3 separate regions of the Homo sapiens genome follow, and regions 2 and 3 are each linked to region 1. Evidence: promoter capture Hi-C in 16 types of primary human blood cells and fetal thymus (Javierre and others, 2016). All regions are on one chromosome and are shown on one strand. Each heading gives the region's core, a stretch centred on a gene start or on the middle of the fragment in contact. The rest is flanking DNA. Distances are from core to core; before and after follow the strand shown. Region 1 holds the start of TP53BP2 (tumor protein p53 binding protein 2). Region 2 overlaps SUSD4 (sushi domain containing 4). Region 3 overlaps LOC105373056 (a long non-coding RNA gene).

Region 1 (4,555 bases), core at 1,360-3,859:
TTTTTGTATTTTTAGTAGAGACGAGGTTTCACCATGTTGGCCAGGAGGGTCTCAATCTCTTGACCTCGTGATCCGCCCGCCTCGACCTCCCAAAGTGCTGAGATTACAGGCATGAGCCACCGCTCCTGGCCTATTTGCACATTTTTAATATAATGCAGTCTAAATAGTAAACCATTATCTTCAGAATGCCTTTAAAAGCAAATCAAGGGTTGTACCTAATGCCACAGAACTGTACACTTAAATATAGTTAAAATGGCATATTTTATTTTATGTATATTTTACCACAATAAAAGTACATCAAGGCAATTGTCTACATTCTGAGACTATCCATTTTTTTACACTAAATGGCTTTTCCTGATAAATTGGTTAGAATTTTCCAAAGCAATGTAACAAAATTACATTTATGTTGGAATAAAAATCCAAGCATATGAAAAGCCAAAGATGAGAAATATACTTAATAAAAGTTTTATTTTCAAATATCCAAAATATTACAGTATAAAGACACATATAACATGAGTCTACTAAATGAAAAATTATTTCATATTTTTATATATCACAAATCTGAGAATCTCCACTTTAACCAACATTGGAAATTCAGAGGCGTTTATCTACCGCCTATTGCAAGCTAGACACTGTACTAATCACACTTCCTTCATAAACATAACTCTAATCCTCAAACCACCCTAAGAGCTGAGTACTATTATCCCCATTTTACAGATGATGAAACTGAGGGACAAGTTTTTTTTAAGTGGCTACGTCACTAAAGGTAGTAGCTGAGCAATACTGAAGTGTTAGTCTGACTTCAAAGCTGGTGTAAGTGCCATCATACCACACTGAGTCTGTGTTAGGATTGTATTCTGACATCAGAAAGGCAATCAGAAGAACCATACTGCTAAATTGAATATAGTCTCAAGAGCCACATAACGTTTTATGAATTCGGCTACACAACGGATACCTTGGTAGGGTATCTCCAAAGGATACCTTGACAAAAAACAAGGAAGAAACCATATAGCAACAACTGATACGTGTTTCTCTTGCTCCTACTGTTAGGAAAAATTCACAGACAATCCGTACAAGTTACTTCAACACAAAGAAATGTAAATCCAGGAAATAAAAATCTTAACAGCAAAATCCATCACCCTTATCTATGGTCCATTATTTCAATATTGGGTATTCACACTACAAACCTGATTTCATAACCAGGCATTAAACTAAAATAAGATGCATAATGCTATTAATACTTTCAAATTCCTTGAATCCTGGCAGGACAAAATATCCCAAACCCTCTAAACCCAATTACTAATTCTAGTGAATTGTTAAGTCGACCCAGTGAGAGTTTGGGACGCCCTCCATGACACAAGCAGGGGGCCAGGGAACAGCATATTATACTCTGTATGTATGACTGCAAACTTTGTCATCACTCCATTCCACAGACTTCATAAAAGTAAAAGCTTTTTGTTTCTTTGTCTGAACAAATGGAGCCACAAGCATAGGATGCCTGCAAGATGTCCCCACTTCAGTGGGAGAGGTGCAAATACAACTTCCACGAAGAAACTCGCTACTGAAGTCTGCAGAAGCCACCGCAACACACCGCAAACCTCCATTCCGCGATCGCTGAATGACAGAGACATTTCTGAAATGTCTCAAACCTGCTGTTCATCTGTGGCCTGGTGGCCGTGTCAAAAGCCTGCGGAGCTCCTAAAGAAGGCACTAATCCTCTCCGGAGGTCTTGCTAAAAGCTGTGGGAAACGAAGGGAGCCAGGCACGTACGCTTTCCTGCAATCTAAAACTTCCGAGATTGCATTTACCAAAACCCCTTTCCACAAAGAGGTAAGGGTGACTTAGCTGCTACTGTGGATATCAAGATCGAAATTCAATTAAAAACAAAGCAAAGGTACCCGTTCCAGTAACGTATGTTTCACTCCAGTAAAAAGTAAAAAGACACAGCAAAGAACAAGGTCCCCGGTTCCCGTATTCTTGACCTTCAAGAACTGCAAAAAAGTCAAGACCCAGTGAAAGACGAAAAGTTTGAGTGGCTGCTGGGCTCGCGGGCGGCTCGCCTGACTCCGGAGCAGCTGGAGGAACCCGCCTCGAGGTTAGGGTCTCGCCGCGCCCCCACGACGGCTGTGGGCGCAGAGCCCAGAGGATGGAGCCTCCCCTTCCTGAAACCCGCTCGAAGCTCGGAAAGCCCCGGCCCCTCCGCGCGGGCTGCGGCCCCCAGGCTCCTTCCCCGACGCGCCCGAGGGCGCGGACCAGCCCCCGGCACGCGACCCCGCACACTTCCGGGCCCGACGCCCTGGCCGCTCGCCCACTTACCGGCATCATCTTGGACCCGAACCGCATGGAAGCGGGTGGCCAGACTGCGGCCCCGGCCGAGCTGAGGTGCCCCGGAGGGTCGCGGATGCGGGGGAGGGGAGCGGAGAGCGAGGCCGCCCGGACCTGTTGCGAGGCGGCGGCGGCGGCAGCGGCGGCGCGCGGGTCCGAAGGGCCCTCCGCGCGGGCTGGGGCACCAACAAGCCCCGGGCTCCCCCGCCCCGGCCGGGCCCCCTGACGCGGCTTTGTCTCTTCGACGCTCGTGACGGTCGGGGCTCCCTCCTCCGCTCCGAAACCAACTAATCCCGGGTCGGGCCCCAGCCGAGCCCGTGCCGGCTCCGCCCCCCGCGCCGACCCCGCCCGCGGCGCGCCCGGCGGCCTGGGGGAGGGGCGGCCGCGGGAACGGGAGCTGCGCGCGCCTGCGCGGGCCCGGCTGGGTAGACGGGGAGCGGCGGGAGCCGGCCGCCTTTTCTTTCTTCGCCCCGGACTGAAGTGCGGTCGGGGCCGCGCGGCGGAGCGGCTGGAGCGCGCGCCTCCTAGCGGAGCCGGGGCAATTGGAAGGCCGCGCCTCAGGAAAACAGGATGGTAGTGAATGGCACCGAGCCGCCCCAGGGCTGCCGCCGTCACCTCCTCGGCGGCTCCGAGTCGTGCGAGGCAGGGGACCCTTTGCCTTCAGAACAGGGCGCCCGACGTTGGGCGCGTGGACAGAGTCCTCCGGCGGCCGCGCCGCTGGGCCAGGCGGAGAGAGGCGGACGGACTTCAGGGGAGGCCCGGGCCACGCCGCGGAAACTACCCGACTCCCTGGAGGCGGCCAGGACCGACCCTGTCCCGACAAAATGGAGTTCCCCGTGTGGCTTCAGCTCGCGGCGCGTTCCCAGAGCTCCTCAGTGATCCGGCTTTCGGATTGTTCGCCTTTCATCTCATTTGCCGTTGTCCAAATTCTAATTTAAAACTCATGTGTTACTTGCTGTAAGGTTAACAAACGTACACCGCAAACTGGATAAAGGGATAACTTTTATGTTGTGTATGTTTTACCACAATAAAAATAAATTTTGTAAAAATGTGTCAGGCAGCATTCTGAGGAGCTTCCCTGGGGGGTGCTGGGAACACCCTGCAAACAGCCTCCGATACGGGGAGCCGGTGGATACCATCCTTTTCCAGGGAGGGAGGCCAAGGCCTAGGGAAATGGCAGGGCTGCCTTCCAAAGAGTAGCAGAGCGGGTTCAGGCTTTTATTCCACCTTCCAGAGAGACACATACTGCGGGAACCCTAACTCCAGGAAGCTTTGTTCTAGTAAGTTGTCAGTGCAAGTTCACTCAGAATCACTTTTCTCTGCCTTTATACATGATTCTAGAACCTGAAGTGGGGTAAATCCCCTGGGTTTATCTAGTATCAAGAACAGACAATTCTTTCTTAGCCCACCATATCCCTTACCAGAATCTCCATCGAACTCCCTATTGCACCATCCCAGATACTGTATCTGGAAATACTAAATTACGGTTAATTCAACTAGAATTTAACGTTCTCGCCCGGGCGCAGTGGCTCACGCCTGTAATCCCAGCACTTTGGGAGGCCGAGGCGGGCAGATCACCTGAGGTCAGGAGTTCGAGACCAGCCTGGCCACGTGGTGAAACCCTTGTCTCTACTAAAAATATAAAAATTAGCCGGGCATGGTGGCGCATGCCTGTAATGCCAGCTACTCGGGAGGCTGAGGCAGGAGAATCTCTTGAACCTGGGAAGCGGAGGTTGCAATGAGCAGAGATCACCCCACTGCACTTCAGCCTGGGCAACGAGAGTGAAACTCCATCTGAAAAAAAAAAAAAGAATTTAACGTTCTCAAAAAATCTGGTTTATAGTCTTGTTTTCTTAAGAGGGTTATACTGAGTTAAGCAAAATAAATTCATCCCTCATTCAGTAAATATTTATTAAATACCTGCCACTTGGTAGATATTCTTCTAAGTCCTAGGGATACATCAATGAACAAAAAGTTCAAAAGACAAGTGTAGTTATTGTGAAAAAAATAGAATAAGGTAAGAGAAGGGGATAAGGTGTACAGGTGCAACTTTAAATATGGTGGTCAAGGTAAGCCTCACTGAAAAGGCGGTGTGTGAGCACAGTCTTGAAGGAAATGAGGGTGTGAACTCCACAAATATGAAGGAAGATTTCCAGGCAGAGGGAACAGCCAACGCTAAGGCCTGATATGGGAGCCTGCCTGGCAAATTCTGGGACCATCAAGGAGGCTA
Region 2 (4,555 bases), core at 948-3,447, 480 kb before region 1:
TGCACTAGGACCATGACTTGGGTATGCAGAGAGGGCCGCTGGACCAGGGGTTTGCATGAGTCAGAGACCTAGAAACAGAAAAAGGAAGACAAGCCAAGCTCAGATGATATTTTGCTCCTGCTCTCCACCCTTCAGTGGGTTCCCCACTGCCTGCTGTGTGACTTTCAGAACCCCTATTGGAGCTTCTAGGACTTTTACAATAAGGTTCTAACCTATTTTTCCTTCTACCCTACTGATTCCTTGCAGGTATACTATATTCCAGATTAAACGGACTATTTTCTGCTCCCTGAAGGGTCCAATCATGTAACCACCTTCCACACCTTTGCACAAGCTATCCCTCCACCTGAGATGCACCCTCCCTCCCCACCATCCTATCCTAAGTGCTACCTCTTCTCTAGAGCCTTTCCTGATTTTCCTTCCAACCTCATAGGCTACCATTAATTGGATGTGGCCCCAGCTATCATGAAACTTTTGCACTTTTGTAAAAAGTAACTCACTCATAGCAATTATTTTCTAAATGGTGTGGCAGTAATTTGGGAATCTTTTTTCTTGCTCTCAATCAAAATTAGCTGAACATCTACTGTGTGTCAGATGTTGTGCTGGGTGCCTGAGACACAAACATGAATAAAGTCAAGTTTCTTGCCCTCAGTGGGCTTGTGGTCTAGTAAATGAGGCAATATTATGATAGAGGGTTACAGCTAGTGCAATGGGAGCCCAAGTAAGGGAAGAACTTACTGACTAGGGAAATATGAGAGAAGTTATGGCATTTAAAAGTTGGGGATAGAAAGAAATTTGAGAAAATTTGCTCATTTAGGAAAAAAATGAGTAAGAGAGAGTTCTAGGTAAAAATAACATTTATGCAACAGTGCTTGGCTCAGGACGGGGTAGGCACTCAATGTTTATTGAATGAATAAAGCAAAAGTCTCCAAAATCACGGCATTGTCTTAGCCCCCTCCGCCCTACTATTATTTACATTTACTAAGTGCCTACATGATTTCCATCCTTCACACCAACCCTATAAATTAGGCACCGTCATCCTCATTTTATAGATGAGGAAGCTGAGGCTCCCAAGTCCTGAGACCCCAAAGCTATCAAGTGGCAGAGCCTGATTGAGTTATTTATAATACAGAAATGTGCTAAAGAATTCACCTTAAAGGAGTCACTTGTTGAGCAAACTCTTGGCTCTCTTCCTTGAAGCCTGGGGGTGGGGGGCACTCTGGGCATCCCTCAAAGCCCAGCAGGTCTCTGGTCAAGTGTACTGGGGCAGAAAGGGGAGAAACAGCTGAAGCCATGCTCCATGCAGATTCCACACACGGCAGGGTCCTATATCTCCCCACCAACCTAATATGAGTTCTTGCACAGCATTTGGTCTCAGTGGCCCCAAATGAGGGCACTCTTCCTTAACGACAAAAGACAACCTGGAGAGAGCCACCCAAACATCATCTCAGGACAAGTCAGGCTCATAAAAGCTTCCCTAGGGTTCAAAGAACTGAATCGGAGCTCTGGCTTTCTAAGACAAAGCATTTCATTTTTGATGGAGTTCCTGTTCCTACTTTTCTTTGATCATTTTCTCAATTTCTGCCTTTCTAGTTCAGGCTTTTTCTTCAATACTTGTACTGGGCACATGCTTTTTTTTTCTCCTAGCTGAGACGATTATATCTTGCCATTGCGGTGTTCCTTTTCCATTGAAAGCAATCAAAAATGAAAATCCACATTTCAGAACAGTGTCCATTAAATATACACTTTTTTGTGGATGAAAAAAAAGCACTCTCCGAGGGCTGATTTTCAGCTCTGTGTATCACCTGAAGATTAGATATTGGGTGAGACTTCTGCTCCTCACAGGCCATTTGCATTCAGTAATTGAGAATGATGGCAGAAAGTCTGGAGCAGAAGCAACTTATTTTAAGGAATGCCTTGGTCTCAAGCATGGCTAATCAAAGTGTGGTCCTTGGATCAGTGGTAACTGCTTCACCTGGGAGCTTATTAGAAATGCCGAGTCTCAGGCCCCACTCCAGACCAAATGAATCAGCATCCACCTTTTAACAAGATCCCAGGTGACTTGTATGCACATTAAAGTTTTAGAAGCACAAGTCTAGAGCTAAGGTGTATTTGCTTTTATTGCCTTATTGGAGCCTCCATGTGCATTTCTTTCCTAAAAAAGAAAATCTCTGTATAATGAACTCTATAGGACATCCCCCACCACCCTTGCTTGCCCAAACGGTTTATTCATAGAGGAACTGTGAAGTGATAAATACTCTTCCAGAAATCACACTCTCAGCCTGAAGGAGTTCAAAGTGAAACGCAGCTGATGGCTAGCTTCCTGCAGCATATGAGTGCCTAAAAAGAAAGAGCTCTGAGACTGACAGGTGACAGGCAACCCTTACTCTCATCCTCTTCTCCAAGGCTCTGGATATTTTTGCCTGGCATGATCCCCCACAGGAAGGCAGGGAAAAAAGACATGCTATAGGAACCTCATAGGTGACTGTCATAAGACCGAGGTGGCCATGATGTACACTGAGCTCTGAAATGTTGAGGAGGATGCTCTGTAAACACGACCAAGCAGAACCAAGAGCACAAAACAAATCTCAGCTGTGCTCAGACCTCACCCATCCAATAACAATAGTCAAGACAAATGTAAATGAACCTTGATTAACTAGTCTGTCATCTACATAAGAGAAATGGACCAAGAAGATGGAAAATCATGTGGACCTGGTTTGAGAGAATGAAAGCTAGAACTGGGAGGCAAAAGCAGAGAGGAGGGGAGGAAATGATCCAGATCCACGCAATACTGTTCTGCCCGTCTATTCCCACTCATATGTGAAGCAGAGCTGGTGTCCACGGCAGATTAGAGGCTGTGACCAGAGCCCTGGCAGGGCACACAGGTGCTGGCCTGGCCTCACACTTGACCTTCTCCTCCATGAAGAGGAAGCTTGCCTCAGAGAAATCTCTATAAAAAACTACAAGCATCCAAAAAGTTATTCCTTCTTAAAAAAAAAATACAAAAATAAAAATAAAAACCAATGTCCACCCAAAGCAAGTGTTTTCTCACTAATTTTGATAGATATGCACATTGCAATAAACACCTTTATACTCTGGGCATCTTTCAGATGTCTAAGTGGAATGCCTGGGTTATTGATTACTCTGTGTTAAAGCCCAACTTATTACACCTCTCCTCCACTTTTGCTAATTTTTCACTCATTTTTTTTCCATTTTCACCTTTGAATTCTCTGAAACAGCAATATTTTAAAACGCTAAAATGGTTTATTTACATCAGTCAATACTTGCTTTTCAACCAAAGATAATTTATTTATATATTAACAGTATCTCAGCTCCTTTTAACGTCCACATCAGCAAGCTCTAGAGAACGTTTGCAATGGACAGGAATGATGGACAGCAATGAGCAGTGGAGGCAGGGAGACTAGGCTCTCAAATTCAGACAGGAACTCCATCTGTCTTCCTCTACCACAACTAAAAGATACCCCTCCCCCAGAACCAAATATGTTATAGATTAGCCGCCCACGGAGGCTGAGGCTATCAATTTTATTTCAGCTAACTTCTACTTCATAGAAGAGCAACTGACTTTATTCCCTGAAATCATACCTCGATGAGCAAAGCAATCTGTCAGAGGCACACCTGAAAGAATACCTCTGCACCTCCTCCACGCCCCCAACATACACATACATGCTGCACACACAGGGGAAGGGAAAGTTAACTTTCAAATAAACCTGCCCCGCAGCCAGTCTGACCACGTTTCCAGACCCTTCACATTCTCAAAGGTGGTTCTTAAACTCTTGCTTAAATCCAGAGGCTGAAATCTGACCTCTATCTGCTGAAGGCATTGGCAAGAGGTCCACAAATACACCACTCCCCACTGCCCCCACCCCCCACCCCTCCCCCCCCCGCCCCCGCTTCCTTGGCCAAAGTGGGAATAATGGGCCAGGCTTTATTGTCTTTCCTTGGGAGAAGCCAGGCCCGGAGGCTGGTGGGAAGCTCCAGACAGAATGTGGGTGTGTGAATCTGTGCGGGCTCCACATGGGAATTTTCAGGGAACTCCAGCGGTTTCGGAGAAGGGCGGCCATAGGCTGGGACGCAGGCACCCTCGCGTTGTCAGATCCTCCTGAAGTCTGGGTGTATGGGGGAGGGGTGCAGGGCTGTCCTGGCAGCTAGGCTCTTTCTCCCCTCTGGGCCATCCCCAGGCCCTCCCACCACAGCTGGGTCACTCACCGCCCGTGAGCTGTGCAGGGCCGAAGCACAGCGCCAGCTGAAACCACAGGATCACGGCCAAGAGTCTCTGGGGGGACTGAGGTTGCTGCTGCTGCTGCTGCTGCTCTAGAAATCCATCTCCATTGCTCGGGTTCATTCCATGATACATCTTTCATCCACAGAGGGCATCCAGCTTGCAAGAGTCTGCAACCAGAAGCGGAACACCACAATAAGCCAGTCTGTCCGGGCTCGGGGGCCACGCTCCCCCTCCTCCGCTCTGGGACCCGGCGCCTCGGCTTCCCAGGCTCCATCCTGGTTCCTCCCCCGCGCGGCCCCCGCCCCCTTTCCCACG
Region 3 (4,555 bases), core at 1,491-3,990, 260 kb after region 1:
GAGAGGAGAAGATGTAAAATAATCATTTAGAAAAAGAGTAGAGGAAGTGAACTTGGAAAATATGCAGTGACTTCAGGGTAGCAGTAGAACCCACTGGAGGGTCACAATTACAAAGTTAAAGTGAAAACAGTCAGCAAGGTTGCATATATTTTGGTAGCCACTCTCAGCTCTCTAATGCAGGAAGGAGTAAGTAGAGAGTTGGATTTAACAATATTCTAACCTGGCCGGGCGCGATGGCTCACACCTGTAATCCCAGCACTTTGGGAGGCTGAGGCAGGCAGATCACCTGAGGTCAGGAGTTCAACATGGTGAAACCCCCTCTCCACTAAAAATACAAAAATTAGTCAGGCGTGGCGGTGGACGCCTGTAGTCCTAGCTACTCGGGAGGCTGAGGCAGGAGAATTGCTTGAACCCAGGAGGCAGAGGTTGAAGTAACTGAGATCGCCCCACTACACTCCAGCCTGGGCAACAGAGTGAGTGAGACTCTTTAAAAAAAAAAAAAAGACTTAATAACTGTAGCAGGGAATTGGAACAATGAGGGATTGGCTAGTAAGAAGTAAAGAAAACTCTAAAGAATAAAAGAATAACAAATAAAGTAGCAGCCATGTTCTTTGAGCTGGGATAGAGTATCCAGGGAAAAGGCTCCCCAGGCCCAGGACCCAGATCTTGGAGGGCACAGGTATGGCTCACTAGGCAGCAGAGAAATTCTTGTGATTCTGTGCTGGCAGAACTGGCTGGAAATCTGCCCTTTGGAATTTACCAGAAATCTGTCCTCTAGGATGTCAGGGAAAGCAGGTCATGGAGAGGTGTCGCACCAGACACTTTACTACAAAGCCATTCAAGGGAGAAGGTGATGCCAAGGGAAGCTGCTGGTCAATGGGTGCTACTGACTACCCTGCCAGGCAGGACATGGTGCTGGAGAATCTGCCCGTGTGCTGCAGGAGCTGCCAAGCAAGCACACCGTAACCAGGAAGCAAAACTCTTTGCTCTTGCAATGTCTGCCCAGAGCCCTCTACTGACATAGCTTCACACTGCGCCAGCTGATAAAGAAAAAAACATTTAATGGGCCCGTTAGTATTTTCACAAAGCAAGCAAAAAAGGGTGAATATAGAGCTCAGAGGCAATTAAATGATAATTGACACAAACATTTTTTAAATAATTAAAAGCAAAAACAATCACCACTGGTCTACAGAATTAAAGTCCAAAATCCTGTGCACACATGCACTTCTCTCATCTTTTGGATGTTTACCTAATTCATGCTATTTGCTTTTACTGTTACCTTTGTTTGAAATGTCCTCACACCCTTTTTCAACTTTTAATTAACAAAACCACTGCAAGTATCCCAACATCATCATCCTTCTAAGTCAAGCTGAAAAAGAACCTTCTCCATGAAACTTTCCCTGGTGTTCCCATAAGTTTTGTTTACACACCTTTCTAATGGCAGAACAGAGGCAGCTGAATCACATGTCCAGAATAGTCCAGGAAATTAAGCTTTTCTTCCTGAATATACAACTTTAGGAAAACTGCACATGAGAAAATAAGGAAACACCAGTCCAGTCTGCCAGGTCAATGGAATAAATTCAGGCCATCAATGTGGTGACTGGTACTGCAGCCAGATTCATATCATCCCCAGGGTGGGAAATATTGTTTATATCTTAGTATCTTCCTAGCATTACCCATGTAGCAATCAATAAACACTTGCTGAATTGAAAGTCTAGTGGACTACCTTTTTCTGGAGTCAAACTTTAAATTTTAAAAAATTTATCTAATCATAAAATTTCATATATTAGTCATGATAGAAAATGTCTTATCTAGTCAAAAGATGGATCTTTAGGCTGGGTGCAGTGGCTCACGCTTGTAATCCCAGCATTTTGGGAGGCCAAGGCAAGCAGATCACTTGAGGCCAGGAGTTCTAGACCAGCCTGGCCAACATGGTGAAACCCCGTCTCTACTAAAAATATAAAAACCAGCCGGGCATGGTGGCTTGTGCCTGTAGTCCCAGCTACTTGGGAGGCTGAGGCACAAGAATCTTTTGAATCTGAGAGGTGGACGTTCCAGTGAGCCAAGATCACACCACTGCACTCCAGCCTGGGTGACAGGGCAAGACTCTGTCTTAAATAAATAAATAAATATTTAAAAAGATGGATCTTTAAAAACACAGTTAATTGCAATCCATAGAAACTTCAAATCTCTTTTTAGTTAGGATATGAGCTCTTCCTTCATTCTTTCTAAATATATTACAAATCTGCTAGCAAATAGAAAAATAATATCTAGTTTTAGCTTCTTTTTTAATATATAAAGCCCATCTTCCTATGGAGGTACCATTGAATAGGCTAGATCACCCCTCACCATGTCCCACCACACCCAACACCCCCCATCTCCTCAACACACACCCTAACCAGGGAAGCAGAAGAATAACAGAGTCCTCATTGTAGTAAATTGATTTTAACACCTTTAATCAGAGGCATTCCAAACCCCACCCATTTGCAGTCTCAGTTCATCCTCATTTCAACTGTGTGATATAAGAGAGGTAATATTCTCCCCTTTTACAAATATGAAACTAGAAACACACAGATCTTAAGAAGCATGTGTCCATCTCATACCCGAGACCACTGTCTTGCAAAGGTCCTATTGTAGTCTGTTGGCATAAAACTATATTTAGAACCTAGAACTACTCTTGAATTCAAATATTTGTATTAGTTACAAATAATTGTTGTGATTGGAAAGCATATCCAAAACAAGCACTGATTTTAATAATTGAAACAAATCCAAAACAAACATTGATTTTAATAATTGAAACAAAGAAACCATTTGCTTTGAAATTCTCTTATTAAAAATATGTACGGGCTCACACCTGTAATCCCAGCACTTTGGGAGGCTGAGGCGGGCAGATCGCTTGAGCTCAAGAGTTCCAGACCAACCTAGGCAACATGGTGAAACCCTATCTCTACAAAAATACAAAAATTAGCCAGTTGTGGTGGTATGCACCTGTAGTCCCAGCTACTTGGGAGGCTGAGGTGGAAAGATGGCTTGAGCCCAGGAGGCGGAATTTGCAGTGAGCTGAGATCATGCCACTGCACTTTAGCCTGGGTGACAGAGTCAGACCCTGTCTCAAATAAATAAATAAATATGAACTTAAATAAATTTTAAAATGTAGGAGATATAAGGGCACAAATCCAATATACATAAACAGAACCATTTGAATGAGCTACTGGCAGGAACTGGTTTAAATTGTTCCCTACATTGTATTTACTCTATTGTTAGATCAGTATTATTCTATTCAATGTATTCTATTGTTAGGTCACCTAATCTGGATGTTAACTAGCTGTCTGCCAGTGGAGAGTTAAGGGAGTGGGAAGGCTTTTCATGTGTCCACTTCAAGCAAACAAGTAATGATTGGATTTACAAAATAAAGTTAGAGAGTGATGATTCATATTTTAAAGGATTTTCTATGGGTTTCCTTTAAATGAGTTTCCATAATGAATTTAAAGCATGATTCTATTTACAAAAATTATATTTCAACCTAACCTATCAAGAAGCCATCTAGTTTTAATTAAAAAGGTAGAAAATGAATTTAATTAAGACTAAGTTGTAATGGGTTCTATGAAGAGATAGCAATATCATAGAAGAAAAGTAAAATTACAATCTATTAGTGGAGATAAAACTAACATATTATAAATATGCAAACATGTCAGAAAGAGTCAATCATAAAGCATATGTTGAATGCTAAACAACCCAAAGTAGGAGAATCAAAGGAACAACTTCAAAACTTTTGCAACAATCATAGGTAAAATGATAATTGTTCACATGCCAAGTGAATGGGGAAAGGATGCCAATTCTAACAAGCTCAACACCACCAATTAATTTCTTTGCTTCAGTTGCCCCCACTTCCCTTAACCTTTAGTCATACTTAGTTTTTTCTGCAGTTTTCACATCTACTGTGCAAACATTAGATTCCAAAAGAAAGCTACAAAAGAAAGGACATATTGGAAGCTTTAAGAATAAGACCAAAGCACTAGGGAGAAGAAAGCTTCAAAATTTAATGATTTGGCAGGCATGGTGGCTCATGTCTGTATCCCAGCACTTTGGGAAGCTGAAGTGAGAAGATTGCTTGAGCACAGGAGTTCAAGACCAGCCTGGACAATATAGTAAGACCTCATCTCTACAAAAAATTTAAAAAGTAGCCAGGCATGGTGGCGCACACCTGTAGTCCCTACTTGGTAGGCTGAGGTAGGAACATTCCTTGAGCCCAGGAGGTCAAGGCTGCAGTAAGCCATGATCATGCCACTGCACTACAGCCTGGGCAACACAGTGAGACCCTGTCTAAAAAAAAATAGTGACTTGTATACCTTTATCTTTGTCATAGGATATTATAAGTATACAAACATACAGAAAGTTTAGGCAACCTTTAAATTTTTTTTCTGAAATAATTACAAGATAGTACAAGGAAGACTCTGGTATACCCTTCAACCAAATTCATCAATTAATAACATTTGCTGTATTTGCTATATTAACCTCATTCTCTATCTATTTACTTGAACCATTTGAAAGTAAT

What was found. Contacts are between HindIII fragments. The CHiCAGO score rates a contact against its expected background, and 5 or more counts as called.
Region 2: a contact is called between a fragment that was not itself captured here and the fragment with the promoter of TP53BP2 in region 1, in 1 of 17 cell types (fetal thymus). The highest score is 5.1, in fetal thymus.
Region 3: a fragment that was not itself captured here is called in contact with the fragment with the promoter of TP53BP2 in region 1 in 2 of 17 cell types (total B cells and naive B cells); the score reaches 6.5 in total B cells.

The regions. Positions count from the first base shown.
Region 1 is chr1:223,843,338-223,847,892 of GRCh38, forward strand. It overlaps TP53BP2 (tumor protein p53 binding protein 2), which reads right to left and starts at 2,610. Exons shown (of 18, transcript NM_001031685.3): 1 at 2,317-2,610. The coding sequence starts at 2,343. RefSeq lists a silencer at 2,438-2,747. The HindIII fragment of the contact is 2,144 bases long and covers 1,450-3,593 here.
Region 2 is chr1:223,359,054-223,363,608 of GRCh38, forward strand. SUSD4 (sushi domain containing 4) reads right to left here. Exons shown (of 9, transcript NM_017982.4): 2 at 4,225-4,407. The coding sequence starts at 4,372. Among named protein-coding and RNA genes, the nearest start is that of SUSD4, 2.8 kb to the right of the region's middle. The HindIII fragment of the contact is 1,460 bases long and covers 1,468-2,927 here.
Region 3 is chr1:224,105,911-224,110,465 of GRCh38, forward strand. The region is part of intron 2 of LOC105373056 (a long non-coding RNA gene); the gene reads right to left. It also overlaps the pseudogene RN7SKP49. Among named protein-coding and RNA genes, the nearest start is that of FBXO28, 5.9 kb to the right of the region's middle. RefSeq lists an enhancer at 856-925. The HindIII fragment of the contact is 2,502 bases long and covers 1,490-3,991 here.